Linked DNA regions of Homo sapiens: regions 2, 3, 4 and 5 are each linked to region 1. The links are contacts of gene promoters, found by promoter capture Hi-C in human tissues and cell types (Jung and others, 2019). All regions are on one chromosome and are shown on one strand. The core of a region is centred on a gene start or on the middle of the fragment in contact, and the rest is flanking DNA. Distances in the headings are between cores, read along the strand shown. Region 1 holds the start of ZNF423 (zinc finger protein 423). Region 2 overlaps LOC105371244 (a long non-coding RNA gene). Region 3 overlaps ZNF423 (zinc finger protein 423). Region 4 overlaps LOC105371244 (a long non-coding RNA gene). Region 5 overlaps ZNF423 (zinc finger protein 423).

Region 1 (3,191 bases), core at 642-3,141:
AAGACCAACTTCTCTCAGGGAAAAGGAGGAGTAGGAACGGGCCGGGCGCTCCGTTTGGACTCAGTTGGTCTCCTTCTAATATGACGGGGAGGATCTCTGCTGGGCCGGGGGCAGTCCCTCCGGGGACTTCAGGAGGACAGAACTGACGAGTGTCTCAAGATCCTCCTTGCCAGATTCAGTTCCAGCCATTCCAGCCAGGCGCAAGGCTGGCAGGAAGGGAGCGGGGCCCCAGCGCCTTCCCGCGCAGGCCTCCAGGAAATGAACTTTTCAGAGCAGAACTGGGCTCAGGCCAGAGGTCATCAGGGGAGATGGGAGAAGACAAGGGCCTGGGGGCTTTTGGCTCCGTAGACTTAGCCGCTCTCATCGTTCCCCCCTTCCTCGATCATCTCCCATCTCACAGCCGAGCGCCCGGGCACCCAACCGAGGGGCTAGAATCGGGACAAAGCAGCAGGCAAGGCCTGGAAAGGCCAGCCGCGGGGAGAGGAGGCCAGGGGAGGGGCTCTGCTGCCGGCGCGCGGCCTTTCCCCGGGGCCTCTACTCTCCAGGGGTCCCCTCGAGCTGGGGGCCCTCGCTGGAAATAGAAAGCAAAGCGTGGAGACGAAGGGATGGGTGTGTGTATCTATATATCTGCAGCTCCCCACAAACGCGCGCACCCCGGGGAGCCAGCACAGAAAGCCGGCCTGGGTGTCGAGGGTGCCGGTGCCCGGGGTCAGATCCAGGGTGCCGGTGCCCGGGGTCAGATCCGGGGCGCCCTCCGCGGAGGGGCGCGCACCGCGGCCGCTGAGCTCCCCTGAGGACCTGCGTCCCGCCGGCGCCGTGCAGACAATGAACTCCTGGCGGAGGCTCCCTGCCCGGTGGGCCTCGGTGGAGGAGGCAGGAAGTGCAGGGGCCCGGGCCGGGAGAAGGCCTGGGCAGGGGCGGGAGGGGGCGCCAGGCGGCCGGGGCGAGGGCGCGGCGCCCGGGGCGCTCGCCGACAGCGCCCGCCGCTCCCCGCGTCCTCGGGCGACCAGGCAGGGGCCAGAGAGAGCCAGCGAGGCCCGGGGCCAGCGAGGAGCGGTCGGCCTGCCGGGCGCCCGTCCTCGCCGCCTCTTCCTTCCTCCTGTCGCCCGCCCGCCGCCGCCGAGATTCGCAATCCCCGCCAAGTCGGGCCAGCACCCCTTGATTGGCCACACGGGCCCGGGCCCCGCACGGAGGGAGCGGCAAGGGCCCCTTAGCGGCGCCCCCAGGCCTGGGTCCCCCAAGGGCGACGGCGCCGAGTCCGGGCAGGGAGGGTGTCCGCGGCGTACCCCCTCCGCCGCCGCCGCCGCCGCCGCCGCCTCCGCCTCCTGCTCCCGGCTTCCTCCTCCCCCTCCTCCGCCTCCGCCTCCGCCTCCGCCTCCTCTGCCGCCTCCTCCTCCTCCTCTCGGCTCGCTCGCGCGGGTCCCCGGCAGCCAGCCCGCTCGCCGGTCCCTCCTCCCTCGCTCCCTCCCTCCTCGCTCGCTCGCTCGCGCCTCCGCCGGGCCTCGCTCGCTCACCTTTCACCGAGCGCGGCTTCGCCTGCTTCCGCCTGGACATGTCCGGGGCTCCGGGCGCTCCGTCGCCCTCCGCAGCCGGCTCCCCCCGCCGCCCCCCGCCGCTCCGGGCAGCCCTTCTCCCCCTTCTCCTCCGCCTGTCTCTTGGAAACTTTTTTTTTTGCAGCCCGGTTGGCGGCTGTGGGGAGCGGACCGCAGGTCCGGGGCGGCCTCCCTTGGGGGGGCAGCCCGGGCCGGCCGAGGCCGCTCGAAGGCGGGGGGAGGCCCGGGGGGCGCGCCGGGGCCCTGCCTGTTGCAATGCGGCAGTCCGGGGCTCCCGATCCAAGCGGCGGTCCCAGCGGCGCGGGGAGTCCGGAGGCCACTCGGCCGAGCCGAGTTATGCAAAAAAAAAAAAAAAAAAAAAAAAAAAAAAGCCGCCCCCCTCCTCCTCCCAACCCCCCGCCGGCCCCCGGCCCCTGCGGCCCCCTCCTTCCCTCCCCCACCCTACCGCCACCCTCACCCTCCTCCTCCTTCTCCTCCTCCTCCGCCCCTTGCCGGATTTTTGTGCAAAGTTTGCAGGCGTCCGGCCACGCAGCCCGGTGCGGAGCTCACAATGAACCCATCTGAGGAGGGGGAACGGGGCTGGAGTCGAGGGTATCTCAAGGGGGGAGGAGACCGGGAGGCGGTCGGGAGCGCGGAAGCTCAGTACCCCCCAGGAAAAAAAAAAAAAAGAAGCCTTCGAATTATCCCCTGCCGCACAAAAAAAAATAATAAATATTAATGGCTCAAAAATGCCCAAGCGCCTGGTTTGGAGATTATGATGGATGGGGGGCGGGGGTCCCTCAACTCAGCCTACTTGGAGGGGAGGCTCGAAACGGCCGCAGTGGCTCGGAAGCCGCGGCTCGGGGCCCCTGGCTCACGCCCCCTTCTCTGGCTCTCGGATCGGCCCGGCGCCGGCCCCCCGGAGGAGGAAGGGGCGCGCGGGGGCGCTCAGGCGGCGGCCGGCAGGCGCGCCCGTGCCCCGGGCATCGCTCAGCCCGTGCGCCGGGCCGCCGCTGCCTGCCCTCGGGCTGCGGTGCTCAGCGCGAGGCGCGCAGCCGATCCCCAGGCCGGTGCCAAGTCGCCGGCCCCGCTAGCTGCCTCCATGGGCCAGGGGCTCGGAGAGGGGGGAGGCGGCGGCCGCGGTGGCGGAAGAGGAGGACGAGCAGGCGGCGGCGGCGGCGGCCGGGCTCCCGTCCTCCTGGGCAGCGGCGGCGGCGGCTGCGCCCCGGCTCCTCCGCGCTCCAGCCGGCGCCGGCCCGCCCGCCAGCCTCCCTCGCGCTCCTGTCTTCTTTGTGGTCGCTGGCTCTCCTCCTCCCGATCCGGCTGCTGGGGCTGCACTGCAGAGACACATAATAAAGCCAGGCTTGGCTGGAAATGTAGCCGGGTCCCAGCAGGAGGATGTGAGGAGCGGAGTCCCGGCGGGGGAGCGCTCTGATCCCGTGGGGCGCCCCGCACTGCTCCGGCTCGGATCAGACGGAGAGAGGGCCAACAGCACCGAGCGATGGACAGCGCTGGAAATACAGCTCCGGCCGCCCGCAAAACCCGGACCGTGGTGGCGGCGGCGGCGGCGGCGGCAGGCACGGCGCGGGCGCGGGCACCGCACCAGCACGCGGGGCCGGGGCTCGGGCGCTGGCTGCACCGGGGGCAGGAGGAGGGAAC
Region 2 (3,412 bases), core at 493-2,992, 440 kb before region 1:
GAAAAAGCAATTAAAAATCACCTCTGAAAAGTCGGTGGGAGGAGGAGTGGAGTTGAGGAGGGGGCATGCTTTAAATGTAGGTGGAACCTGTCACTGGCCCCCCAGAGGGGAGTTTGTCTTCCCCCTTTAATCAGTCATAAGTCCTGTCATTATCCAGTGGGGGAGAGAGAAAGCACGAGGCAAGGAACCGCTCCCTGGAGAAGCCCCTCCATTCTTTCCATGTCCATAAGGCAATTAAGTCTTCACGTTCTCAAACCTGAAGGCTTTCATGGGCCGAGCCAATTGGTGTGTCTCCATAATGAGGGGGGCCTTCTGCGCCGGGGGCACATTTTCCTGGTAGCTTCCAGGCTCATCCTGGCCTGGCGGAGAGGCATCTGCTGCAGGCTCTGAGCTCTGCTGCCCACCCAGCCCTGGGAGGAGAGGTCAGAGCATGCTCTTTTCTCCCCGGGTTTACCTGGGACCGCAGACACAGCCCAGGACACCTCAAGGCCAGGGGGTGGGCTGCAGCCAGGCTAGGGGTGCAGGGCCGAGGCCCCGGTGAGCAGGAGGGTGGACTCTGACACATAGCCAAGGCGGGGGCTCTCTGAGCGGCGCAGGGCTGGGGCCTGGATGAAAGGCCTGTGAATAGGCTCATTACCAACGAGCCCCAGATTAAGCCTCTATTATGGGCCTATAATTGGAGAGTTAATTATTCAGCTGCCATAGTGTGCTGCAATGGAGCCAGGATGGTTCACCCAGATACCAGGCCTCGGCTCGGGGGTCTCCTGGGTTACCTGGCAGGACAGGACCGGTGTCAGGTGGGGAAGGGCCTCCCTAGACCAGGTCTTACCCTGGAAGCCAGGGGTATAGTGGGGAGCAGTGCAGACCCTCCCTGCCCTTATGGGGTGGGCAGTCGCACAACAGAGAGGGAGGCGGGGGAGATATGGCCACACAGATAAGAAAAAGTATGGCTGGGTGCAGTGTCTCACGCCTGTAATCTCAGCACTTTGGGAGGCCGAGGTGGACAGATCACCTGAAGTCAGGAGTTCGAGACCAGCCTGGACAACATGGTGAAACCCCGTCTTTACTAAAAATACAAAAATTAGTTGGGCATGTTGGCACACGCCTGCAGTCCCAGCTACTTGGGAGGCTGAGGCAGGAGAATCACTTGAACCCAGGAGATGGAGGTTGCAGTGAGGCGAGATCCTGCCATTGCACTCCAGCCTGGGCGACAAAAGTGAAACTCCGCCTGAAAAAAAAAAAAAAAAGAAAGAAAGAAAAAAAAAAGAAGAAGAAGAGAAAAGGTACTGGGAGGGGATAGTGCAAGGTGGCCTGTGGGTGGCTGCGGAGGCCACAGCTTCAGACCCCCGCTGGGAGAGCCAGGTCAGGAAGAGGCATTTCAACCTGGCAGAGTTGAAGCAGGAGAAGAGAGGCTTCCGGCAGAGGGAGCAGCAGGTGCAAAGGCCCAAGTGAGAGTTATGAAGAATGGGTTCGGGGTATGAGGTGGACTCCCAGGCAGAAACCAGACTAGTCAGGAGTTTTGTGGTTTAAAACAGAGGAATGACCAGGCACAGTGTCACATGCCTATAATCTCAGCTCTCTGGGAGGCTGAGGCAGTAGGATCACTTGTGCCCAGGAGTTTGAGACCAGACTGGGCAACACAGTGAGACCCCATTTCTATAGAAAGCACAATTTGAAAAAAACAGCTGGATGTAATGGCACACACCTGTAGTTTCAGCCACTTGGAAGGCTAAGGTAGGAAGATGGTTTGAGCCCAGGAGGTTGAAGCTGCAGTGAGCTATTATTGAACAACTGCACTCCAGCCTGGGCAACAGAGCAATACATTATCTCTAAAAAAAATAAAATAAAATGAAATAAAATAAATAAAACAGAAGAGTGAGAGGTTCAGCTTGGCATTTCTTACAGCTCATCAGGGCCACCATATGGAGAGAAACAAGGCAGGGAACAGAGAGACTTAGCAGGAGAGAACCATGGGCTCACCAGAGCCACCATCTGTAGAGAACCCAGGGGTGGCAGGGGAAGGGAGAAAAGTAGACACTGAGGGCTATGCTGATGTTACTAAGGCCAGAGACACAAGAATACCCAATCACTTCCCTGTCAATTACCACCAGCTCTCCACTCTGCCAGGAGAGCTGCGCACAGGGCCAAAGAGCAGGGTGCCTCAAAACCCACTCCCTCTTGGGCATGGGGAGGAAGGCAGAGCGCAGAACCCGTGGGGTAGTTGAGGCTTCACTGATCCTCTCAGATGCCTTCCTGGAGGAGGCGGCAGTGAAGGGGAGACAGGCAAGTCTCTCAGAGCAACCAGAAGACCATAGCCACCACCTCAAGTCTTCAGGAATCCCAGGGGCTGGGCTTTCTGTGGTCTCAACCGTGTGAGTTTCAAGGCAAGGGTGAGCCATCCTAGGATGGCTGCCATGGCTGGCAGTGAGGAGCGGGGAACTTGGAGACCCCGAAGGGCCTTCCAGTCCTAAAGTCCGGGGATTCCCCTGAGTCTGGGGGTCAAAGGATCTGGGAGAATGGATTTGAACAGCGACTCTCACTGCTAGGGAAGGGGCTCCATGGTCACCCGCCTTCCACATGCCAGAGACAGACCTGAGAAGGGAAGGAGCCCAAGCCAGTGGCTCACACAACCCCAAAACCCTCCTGGCTGAGGTTTTTCACACCCAAGATCACTGTGGTGGCAGTATTTGCCATGCTGTTCTTCTAGGACTCCTGGGGAGAAGCCTACTGTTTATTGATAAGGATAGAAATGATGCACAGAGAGCCCAGACATGCCGCTACCCCTTATGGGCATCCTTTTCCTAGCCCCATTTTACAGATAAGGGACAGGCTTAGAGCAGTGATGGAAGCTGACGATAGCTTCAAAAAGTGAAGCTCTCTGGTGCCAGGGGCTGAGCTCTTGGCTTCCTCAGTGTGGCACAGTGCCAAGATGGCATTTGGTGTCGGGGGATGCATGGAGCCACTGTGGCCACCCTGTGAACTAAGACCACCAACTGGCACCTTCACAGAGCCAGCAAAGAGCTGGGGCCCCTCTCAGATGGTCTCCACGCCAGAGGCCCCGGGCCCCCATCACGGGCCCCGGCTCTCATCATGCCTGCCCAACACCCCATGCAGGCGGGCATCTTGGCTGGGAGTCATTGTCTCTAACAAGTTAATTGTGATGGTGGAGTGCGCCTCCCCCTCTCCCGCTTCCCGGCGCCCGATCAAAGCATTCCCATAATGACAGGAGACCATGAAAGGAAACTTGTAGGTGGTTAAATGCGGTTTCTTGCCTGTGCAAGGCAGCAGGGAGGGGAAGGACTGTTTTGTTTAAGGAAAGCTGCCACGCCACTTTGATGTGAGGTTCGTTCTCTCACAGAGAAGATGCTAGTGAATGAAGCCAGCACCAGGGCGGGTGGAAGCTCAGAGCCTC
Region 3 (3,368 bases), core at 726-3,225, 310 kb before region 1:
ATCTGTAAAAACAGAGGGAGATCTACCCTACAGGGCTCTGTGAGGACCAGCAGAGGTGCCTATAAAGCACTGAGTAGAGTGGGCTGATAGAATGCAACAACTGTCAGCTGTTAAATTAACACCGTCATTAGTCTAATCCCTGTGGTACTGGGTCCATCCATGCACACATCCACCTGTCCATCTACCCATCCATCCATCCACCTATCTGTTTATTCAACAAATGCCAGGTATTGTGCTAAGCAGTCTGGAGAAGAGAGAATGAATTAGACACACCTGCCTTTAAATCACCTCTAGCAACAAAACGACAGTATGGTCCAGAGGTGAGGCCAGTGCTTGCCTTTGAGGGAGGCAATAGCAGGAAGGAGTGCAGGGAGCTACCAGAGGCCACTGGGTTCGACTTCTCGATCTGGATGTGTTCTATTTCTGCAAACTCATCAAGCTGTGCACTTAAGAGGTGTGCATCTCTCTGAACGTACGCTATACTTCAACAAAGTTTTAAAAAACCCTCACGTCTAATTAGGGAGGGAGATCAGCTGGGTATGCACATAAGCATTACACCAGGCAGGAAGGGGTCAGCTCCTTAAGAAGGGTGAATAAAATATTTGGGATGGGGGTCGAGGTAACACCAAGGGGGAAGAAACTTCCTCCGTGACAGGTGAGGATCACCTTAGCACATGTCTGGTGCATAGGTACCTACTGAATGGATGAGTGAATGAATAACTTCCTGAATGAGGTGGCCTTGGATGAACAGGCTGAGATGTGGAGGCAGAGAGGGCGTTCCAGGGGAGGGTGCTTGCAGGGGCTGAAGGCTTGGGAGGGTTTTCCTCACTGAGCCAGGTGCTGGCATGCAGCAGTGACCTGGGAGCCAGGGCTTTTGCCCTTGCTGGGCTCACAGTCTACAGGCATCAGACATCAAGACGTAACTCCAGGGGATCGCATCCTTCTTCTATTCTGCAGAAACTGAGCGCCCAAGCGCAGGGTGCAGCATTGGGTGCTGGTGATGTGCAGCAGAACAGGACAACAGGACCTCTGACCTCACAGTGTGACCAGAGGATCAGAGCTGAAGCGAAGCCAGCTTTACACAGTCACTTGCTCATCACAGTGGCACTATGGGGCCGGTGCCGTTATTATTCCCACTCCACACATGGAGAAAGTGACACTGGGTGAGGTAAAGTGATTGTCCCACGTGGCTGATCCAGGACCGAAATGCAACTCTTAACCTCTGCCAACAATGGCCCTTCCCCTTGGCCTCTACGGAACACTTTATCCCCAGGTCTGTTTCTCAGCCATGTGAGTAAGCTGGATGGAGGTGGCATTTTTCGTCCCATTCTGCAAGTTGGAACACTAAGCTTCTAAGTATCAAGTTGAAAAGATAGTAAGTGACAGAGGAAGTGAATCTCAGGGCCCTGACTCCTTGTCCAGTGCTCCTTCCCCTGCCCATTGCTGTTGGACAGGATAATGGGGACTGTCATGAAGAGGAGGCGCCGGGCAGGCTTGACAAGGGCAGCCCCATCACATCTCAACATGTGCAAGACTGGGCCTTGGCTGCCACATGACCATGCCACCCCATCAACCCTGCTCAGAGCCTGTGAGCTACACAGGTGTCATGCCCAGCCCTGCCAGCCAGGGTGACCCCCCACTCTAACTGTTCAGCACCGAGCCTCCGACAGAAAAGCAACCCCAGACTGCAGTGGTAGCTCATGCTGAAACAATTCTCCCAAGCTGCTTTAAATGGAGATTTTGCAGTTTGGGGTACAAAATTATTGTCCACGTCACATGGGGAGTGGGCAGAATGTATTTGCCTGTGCTGAGCCACAGTTCTGTCTCCCAAGCAAAGCTGAACAGACACTAGCCAAGACTGGGCTCGCTGAGTTAATAAAGATTAGCTCTCCTGGACTATCTTGGAGGCATTCAAGTGCTAACTACCTGCCAGGCATTCAGCTAAACACTTTACATCTGGGATGGGCTCATAAAATCTCTACGAGGAGGTCATGATCTTGTCCTCACTTTACAGTAAGTGACAGCGCCCAGGCCTTTCAACCACAGAGCTGTGCTCTTAACCCCAGGGCTGTGCTAACTTCCTTACCATTATTCATAATCGCCATTGGTAGCATAAGGATAGAGGCAATTAAATTCAACACTTAATTTCTGTTATGTGCAAAGCATAGAGCCAGGTGTTGGGAACATAAGCAGAATGAGAACTGACCTCTGTCTGCAAGAAGTTTCAGATTTTTATACCCACAAATGCAAGACATCTTTTCACTAAGGTTTTTTTTAATGATCAAGCACATTGCCCAGCATCTTGCACAATAAATGTCTTCTGACTACACAAACAAACAAAAGTTAACATTTTTTAAGGAGAACACATTTTCCTTCCCTACTGGCTGTTCTCAATTCCATTTCAACACCCCTCCATCCACTTAAACTGTGACTTTCTTCACTTCCAAACAGTACAAACGCTTTCATTAAGAAACTACTCGGTGGGGTGTCCTTGGGTAAGTTGGTGCCTTTTCTGAGCTCAGAGACCTCATTTGTGAAAGGAGGAGGTAGGATTTGATAACTCACAAGGTCACTCGGGGATAGAGTACTAGGATGTTAATGGCCAGTCCCCATCCTAACTGTAGAGGACTTTATCAGATAGTTGGCGGCTATAAAGGGATGAGCATGTGAGACTTCCATTACAAAGTTCAAGATTTAAACTCGAGGGCAAGACATCAGAAGGAGGCACTCATAGTGAGCGCGCACAGCAGCTGAAGCTATCCGTGGAAGCTCGAGATGTCATCAGGGGGCACAGAATTAAACGCCAAGGCTGAACCTTAATGCTTTTCGAATATTCCCTGCACTTCTTATCAGTCCCTATTGTCCTGTGCTCCTCAGCCCCACCCTGATCTGCTTGACCTCAAAGGTCATTGAGTTTGTGACCCCTGTGAAAGAGAATTCATTCTTCAAAGGCAAAGCAAGAGAGAAGAAAGAGCATAACATTTGTTAACTGGGGGACGTCAATGCCTGGTGCCTGGAAGCTGTGTGATCTTAGGATAGTCACCTAACTCCTCTGAGCCTCAGTTTTCTCACTGTCCAGAATGGACAAAAGTTTTATCTACTTGATACTCTTTCCAGAAAAAAAAAAAAAAACAATCAGCCAGCTTTCCCACACTTCCAATACCCTGCAGAAAGTTGTAAACTTTAGAGAAATCAACAAAGACCTGTGTATTAAGATAGGGAAAGCTATGTTGTAGTAACAACTCCCAAAATCTCAAGGGGTGCAATGGTTTATTTCTCATTTGCCCTTCACATCCATTGCAGGGGTTTCTGCTTGTGAAAAACACTCAGATGCTGAGAGTGCCCCAGGGAAAGAGAGAATGCTGAAA
Region 4 (3,457 bases), core at 53-2,552, 460 kb before region 1:
AAAAAAGTGGGAGGGGTCCAGGGTCCTCAGAGGGACATTAGAAAGCACGAAGTGTAAAGGGGCTGGTTGAGAACACACACACATGCCCCACGCCCATGGCACGACTTGGCTTTGTGGGGACTTGGCTTCCTTGTGTGCAGAGTGGGGGACTGATTGGGGCAGTGAGAGAGGGAAATGCTATCAACATATGGAGGCAAGGAAGGAGACCTTTGTGTGCTTACAACCACAGACCCCAAAAGGGGACCTGAAACCTTTCAGAGCTGGTAGGTGCCTCAACATCAGCAAGTCCAGGACCTTATTCATTTGAATAAAAGAAGCCACAGAGGGCAAGAAACTTGCTCAGAGTTACATAGATGAGAAACGGCAGGGTTGAGATGAAAACAGTATCTTCCCCAAGTCTCCTGCCCTGCTTTCTTGCATGACTGTGGCCAATCCTGCAGGAATTTTTTGAGACACAGCCTTCCCATCTGGGTATGCTGGCCAACCAAGGTCACAAACTCAGGCCCTTCCAGTCCCTGCAAGTGTTTCAAGCAAGTCTGAATCCCACGTGTCCTACTTAATAGCTGTGTGACTTTAGGAAAGTTACTTTACCTTTCTGTGCCTCTGTTTCCTCGCCTGTAGAATGGGTTTAATGACAGTATGTGCTGAGCAGGAGTGCTGTGAAGAGCACATGAGAGCTTGCATGTGAAGCAGGGAGCACAGTCAGTGACAGCCAAGAACTCCATACAAATGTGGGCTGTTTCGTAGTTCACTGGGGTAGACGAGGAGCTGATTTTCCAGCCGCTGCTTTTCTGAGAGGGATCCCCAAAACTAGGCACGTCAATCCCCTTGGAAAAGCTGCTAATACCAAATCCACATCTGCTCATGGCAAACCTAAACATCTAATGATCTCTGGGCCTCCAAGAGCTAGGCCACACCCCAGAGATACTCCGGTACAGAATCTCGGCTGGGCAGCCACTACTCCAGTCTGTCTTGTGAGCAGGTTTTACTCCCTGACTCCGTATACTAAAATAGCAGGGATTTTCCTTCCATGTACTTTTAAATTTCCATATCCTACCCTGAGGTTCTAAAGTAGTCTCTTGAAGGTAAGTAGGTCTCTCCACTGAAAGTCATTGCCACTGGGGCTCAGAGAGAGGCCCTGGGGGCTGCCGGACCCACCCTCCCCTACCCCACGCCAGCCCACCCTAGGGTTGCAGTCACCACTAAGGAATACAACACCCCTCCAAGGAGCGGGCAGGCCAGAGAAGTATGAGCCCATGTAGCTTGCCTAAAGTCACACAGCTACTAAGCAGGACACTCGGGATCCAGCAAGCGATGTTTAGACCGAACTACAGTGAGACCCAAGCCAGAATCCAAGGAAACAGCTGCAAAGGGTTAAGCGATACTCCCTCTCTCCAGCAAATACCAGTCCCTTGGGTAGAAACAGTGCTTCAAAAAGGTGAAAGGAAACAAATTTTCTGAGCATCACAAGTGTCAGGCACTTCGTCAATATTAACTCAACCAAAATCAAATCTGAAAGCATCCTCAGAGGCCTTCACTTCAGTATCACAGACTCGGCAGCTAGGGAGAGCACCGCCAACCTCTATCCTGCATTGATGGCCCTAGCCTTCATTGCCTGGTAAATATTCACATTCAGGCAGGACTAGTGATGAGGAACAAATTAAACAACAGATAAAATGGCCCTAAAAAGTTAAATGTCAGATATATTAACCATAGCGATGTAATGTGACAGTGACCATTTAGCCATTTCATCTTCAGACTTGTTTTTTCCACAGTTTTCTGTGATATAATTCAGTTTGATTATCTCTGCAGTATCCTTAGTGTGTCCCTTTTAAAAATGCAATAGCCGGCTGGGCGCAGTGGCTCACGCCTGTAATCCCAGCACTTTGGGAGGCCGAGGCGGGCGGATCACAAGGTCAGGAGATCGAGACCATCCTGGCTAACACGGTGAAACCCTGTCTCTACTAAAAATACAAAAAATTAGCCAGGCATGGTGGCGGGCTCCTGTAGTCCCAGCTACTCGGGAGGCTGAGGCAGGAGAATGGCATGAACCCAGGAGGCGGAGTTTGCAGTGAGCTGAGATAGCGCCACTGCACCCAGTCTGGGAGACAGAGTGAGACTCCACCTCAAAAGAAAAAAAAATGCAATAGCCAAAAATGGACCCAGAATAAGGCATGAAGCCAGTGGCTGGATTCCTTTCTTGTAATAAGGACTGACTTCCAGATGACATGTAGATTTTATGTATTCATTTTTCCCCTCCACCAGCTGTATTACATGGCTGATGTGCTATACTTCCCCTGTGGTCCACTAAGACCCCTGGATCATTTTCTGAAGAGCTGGAGTCATACATCAGTTCCATTCCTCCACAACTCACTAGGAGCCCCAATGTGAGAAAGGTATTCAGAAAAAAGGGAAGCCCAGCCCTTCTGATGTCACAGAGAAGCTGAGGGAGATGCCAGCATTTTGGCCTTAATCAGGAGCTCTCCTCACTGTGTTGTGCTTGGTAGTAGCAGGAGGATGTGTGTAATCCCAAATGCTGCATCCACTCTCAGCTTCTCCAAATCCACCCAGGGCCCACATTGTCCCTGACTTTTCACAGGTTTCGATTCATGTGCAGTCAGAGAAAGAGGGCAGACCTTGATCTCCTCTAGTCCATTGGCCTCCAGTCATATTCCTCAATCCTAACACTCAGCCATTACATAGTTACTAAGCACCCACCTATGGGTGTGTCATCCCTGCCCCTATGGGAGTCCAGGGATGCAGTCATTAAGAAAACCTGGTCCTGCCCACATGCGGTTTACAGTCCTGAAGACAGAGGAATAACAAGCTATTTGAGAGCACCACATGATGAGTGAGGTGAAGGGAATCAAATGTCCTCAGAGAACAGGGGGAGGAGGCCCTTCACCATGGACTGGGAACAGCAGATGATGGAAAAGCTTCTCAAAGGAGAAGATATCTAATGTCACACTTTTATGGATAAATAGGAGTTTCCAAGATCTTTGTATAGGAGGAAAGAGCAGACAGAGGGAACAGAATGTACAAAGGTTCAGAGGCCAGAGACAGCGTGGCATGGCAGAAAAGCTGCAGGTAGGTCAGTCTGGATGGAGTGGATGATTAACAGGAAGCACAGTGGCAGGAGATAATATGCTCAAAGGGTTTGCAAGCTTCACGACAAAGGCTCCCCTCACCCCCGAAGGTTATTGTTATTCATTTGTTATTCATTCATTTAGCAAATATTTATTGAACACCTACTATGTGCCAGAAACTGTTATAACTACTAAGGCCACGGCAGTGAATCAAAGCATTCCTTTGATTTGAGCTTACGTTCTAGTTGGGGACACAAATAATATGCACTTCAGCAAAAGGCTTTTTTTGCAAGTAATGACAAAGATTTTAGCAAGTAATGAGAAACTAAAAATGGTGGAATGCAAGAAAAGTGACTGGGAGGAGGGTAGGA
Region 5 (3,449 bases), core at 508-3,007, 340 kb before region 1:
TATTAGCTTACTTTCCCCTCCCTGCAACATGTGAGGGGCTTAGTCTATGCCTCTGTTTGTCCCCAGCACCTATGCACAGCTGGCACAGATCAGGTGCTTAGTAAACACTTGCAGGCTAGATTGAGCACGTCCACACATGATTGATTGAATGAGTCAATGAACGCATTAACAGAAAGCCCACCACCTCCAGACCACAGGCAGGGCAATGACTAGGGCTCACCAACCTTTGACTCTGACCCAGACCCAATGCTGGGAGCTTTTCAGGCATCACTGCCTTCAGCTACCCCAGTACCAAACAAAGAAGGGCTCTTCAATAACCCTGGTCTCTTGAAAGCAAGAGAATGCCGGTGACTTGCTTATGGTCATGGAGCTGCTTGGTGGCAGGGCTGGCATCTGAGGCCAGACTGTGAGCTCCACAGCATGGGCATGGCATCGCCACAACATGTGGTCACATTCAGTAGAATTCAGGCTGTGCTGGGCTCTGGTTTCCTACCCTAGTGGGGAAGGCAGGAAGCATAAAGTGATCCTATTGGAAAAGGGCCACAATGACCCTCAGCAATCCTTCTATCCTAAGTGCTATAAAGTGCTTTACACATGCGAACTCCATCTTCACAACAACCCGAGGCAGCAGGTCTTACCCCATTTAACAGATGTGGAAACTGAGCCCAGAGAAATACAACATCTGCAGTAGGAAATAATGGGCGGCTGGGCACGGTGGCCCATACATGTAATCCCAGCACTTTGAGAGGCCGAGGCAAGTGGGTCACTTGAGGTCAGAAGTTTGAGACCAGCCTCGCCAACATGGTGAAACCCCTGTCTCTCCTAAAAATACAAAATTAGCCAGGCATGGTGGTGGGCACCTGTAATCCCAGCTACTCGGGAGGCTGAAGCAGGAGAATCACTTGAACCCGGGAGGCGGAGATTGCAGTGAGCCGAGATCGTGTTACTGCACACTCCAGACTGGGTGACCGAGTGAGACTCTGTCTCAAAAAAATAAAAAAGAAAATAATGGGGATTGGGAGACTTCGGGGGGTCAGCAGCCAGCCCAACTCTCAGCCCTCCCCAGGCTCCTGGCCTCACAAGTGGCTGACTCCAGCGTGAGCAACAGGTTCTCACTCCCTGGAACCACCACTGGGTGTCAGCCAGCAACTTCAGGCCACACCCATCTGGGCCCTGGTCTCCCAGCAGAAGTCAGGTTGACAAGGATGGGGCCATCTCTAAAGCAGGAAGGAGGAAGATGCCGCTACTCACAGAAAGCGCAGCCAGAGTCAAATGCTAAGTATGTGCCTAGAGCACTTTTGATTTTTAATTATTATTAGTTATAATTATCTGGCTGGATCCAACAGCAGCAGTACAAAGAGACAAGGAAACTGGCTCTTTGGTTACCCATCTTATAAGGACCAGGGATTTTAAAAATGGGCTCCCGGAATCTGTGGGTTTCCCCTTCTTCCTTTTCCTCCTTTCCTGCTTGTGTTCTCTTTCCGACTTTCCAGGAGCTCAAAAAATATGTTAACACATATGGGGATGGATGGATGGATGGATGGATGGATGGATGGATGGATGGACGGACGGATGGCAAAGGGTGTCTTCACTCTCCAAAAACTCACGTCAGAGTGGAGAGTTTGGTGTAGACGTAGTGACTTACAATCCATATGGCCAACGGAATCAGGGGGGTTAAACCAAGGGCTGGAGAAACCAAAGGAAGGAGAATCCGAGAGGCTTCTCAGGGGAGGAGGCACTGGAGCTGGGCTGATGCATTAAGAGAAAGAAAGGGTACTTCCTGCAGGCAGATAGGCAGGTGTACGTGCATCTAGGAAGCCCCATCTTGATCTCACTGGGTAGGCGATGCGAGGCCAGCCCAGGAGAATAATGCAGGAAGGCAGTGGCCGTCTGTCCTGCTTGCCCCTCTAGTCCCTCTGCCTTTTTATTCTGTTCTGAGAACACCCCAAATCTGCTTGGGCCTCAGATACTTGGTACTGGCTCTTCCCTCTCCTGGAGGATCCCCCAGCTCTTCCCCACACTGGCTCTGCAACCTCCAGGATTGAGCTGAAATGCCAGCCTTTCCTGACCACCCAACACACACACACACACACACACACACATGCACACGCACATGCGTACACACACACGCACACGCACACACACACACACATGCACATACACACACCACTCTCCATCACAGTACAGCGTTTTCACATTCTGAAATCCCCTAGTTCATGTATTTACTGACTTATCATCAGTGTCTCCCAAAGCATGTCAGCTCCATGAGAATAGAAACCCTGTCTCCTTGTTCCCAGTTCTGTCTCAGGCTCCTGAGGTGGTGCCGGGAGTAGGTACTCAGTAAATGGAATCAGGGCAAGGGCTGAATCAAATGTTCTCAAGGGCTAGGAAGGAAGGGTCCCAAGGGAGCTGAGATCCCGCCCCTGTCTCAGAGAGCTCTCCCTCTGGCCGGGTACCAGGACCCTGCCTGGCAGAGCCCGGCTCACCCTATCGAAAGGGCTCCGGGTTGCTTGTTAGAATACCTAGCTCTGCTTTTAATCAATTGTAATCATTTAGCTGGAAGCAGCATGATTAGGCACACACAAGCAAACAGCATGAGCTAATCCTTTAAATGCGCCCGCTCAACGCTGGGCTGGCCGCTTTGCCACCGCGGGCCCGGCTCACGGAATCACTTCCTGCAGCCCCTGGCTTTGTCAATGAGGGAGTCAAGATTCCAGGGCGTGGCGCTGGTCCAACACCCCAAAACCATCTTCATCAAGGACATGTGCATGTGTGCGTGCACACATACACGCGCTGTGAACTCTGACATGCCCTGGCAGGCAGTGCCCCACAGCTCCAAGATCCCAGAAGTTCTATGTCTAAAAAGACATCTCTCTAGTTCAAGTTCTATTCCCCCATGACAGGACCAAGCAAGTCATAAAGGGGAGAAAGGTGGCAGCACCATGAACCTGAGGTCTTAGGAAGTCCCTATCTCCGTGACGAGAATGAATCCTTCCTCTCCCCAAGCCCAGCCTAAGCCAAACCCATCCTGATGCTCATTTGCAAGCAACAGGGTTTGCAGGGTCCTGGCCTCGAGCTGCAGCCTGGCAAACGTGGCCATGCACAGCCCTGGCCCCGCGCGCACAGGCCCCATGGCGTTCCCACCTGGGCTCACCCAGGAGCAATTTTTCTTGCATCCCCTGTTACTGCTACTTGTGCTACCTGCTTGGCCCAACTACTAAAATAGTTTCTGGGTCCCCTGACAACGAAAGCTTTTTATAGTTCAGCACTGCAGGCCTCATTTAAATCTATTAGCTCATATAAATGGCAATTTATTTAAACTTTGGAGGGTTTCTGTTTGCCTTGGTGGCAAAGACAATCCAGCTTTATGTGTGGCTCTGCCATTTGCAAATGACCCTCGGCAAACCGCTTAACTTCTCAGAGCCTCAGTTTCTGTATCTGTAAATGGG

Evidence for each region. Contacts are between HindIII fragments. The study calls those that stand out against the background at their distance.
Region 2: a fragment that was not itself captured here is called in contact with the fragment with the promoter of ZNF423 in region 1 in 1 of the 25 tissues and cell types used here (lymphoblastoid cells).
Region 3: a contact is called between a fragment that was not itself captured here and the fragment with the promoter of ZNF423 in region 1, in 1 of the 25 tissues and cell types used here (hippocampus).
Region 4: a fragment that was not itself captured here is called in contact with the fragment with the promoter of ZNF423 in region 1 in 1 of the 25 tissues and cell types used here (lymphoblastoid cells).
Region 5: a contact is called between a fragment that was not itself captured here and the fragment with the promoter of ZNF423 in region 1, in 1 of the 25 tissues and cell types used here (lymphoblastoid cells).

What each region holds. Positions count from the first base shown.
Region 1 is chr16:49,854,221-49,857,411 of GRCh38, forward strand. It overlaps ZNF423 (zinc finger protein 423), which reads right to left and starts at 1,892. Exons shown (of 8, transcript NM_001379286.1): 1 at 1,515-1,892. The coding sequence starts at 1,554. RefSeq lists a silencer at 1,136-1,395. The HindIII fragment of the contact is 13,140 bases long and covers 1-3,191 here.
Region 2 is chr16:49,415,955-49,419,366 of GRCh38, forward strand. The region is part of intron 2 of LOC105371244 (a long non-coding RNA gene); the gene reads right to left. Among named protein-coding and RNA genes, the nearest start is that of C16orf78, 44 kb to the left of the region's middle. The HindIII fragment of the contact is 4,694 bases long and covers 1-3,412 here.
Region 3 is chr16:49,543,895-49,547,262 of GRCh38, forward strand. The region is part of intron 5 of ZNF423 (zinc finger protein 423); the gene reads right to left. Among named protein-coding and RNA genes, the nearest start is that of LINC02179, 79 kb to the left of the region's middle. The HindIII fragment of the contact is 6,595 bases long and covers 1-3,368 here.
Region 4 is chr16:49,399,568-49,403,024 of GRCh38, forward strand. The region is part of intron 7 of LOC105371244 (a long non-coding RNA gene); the gene reads right to left. Among named protein-coding and RNA genes, the nearest start is that of C16orf78, 27 kb to the left of the region's middle. The HindIII fragment of the contact is 3,495 bases long and covers 1-3,050 here.
Region 5 is chr16:49,512,111-49,515,559 of GRCh38, forward strand. All of the region lies in intron 7 of ZNF423 (zinc finger protein 423), which reads right to left. Among named protein-coding and RNA genes, the nearest start is that of LINC02179, 48 kb to the left of the region's middle. The HindIII fragment of the contact is 5,204 bases long and covers 1-3,449 here.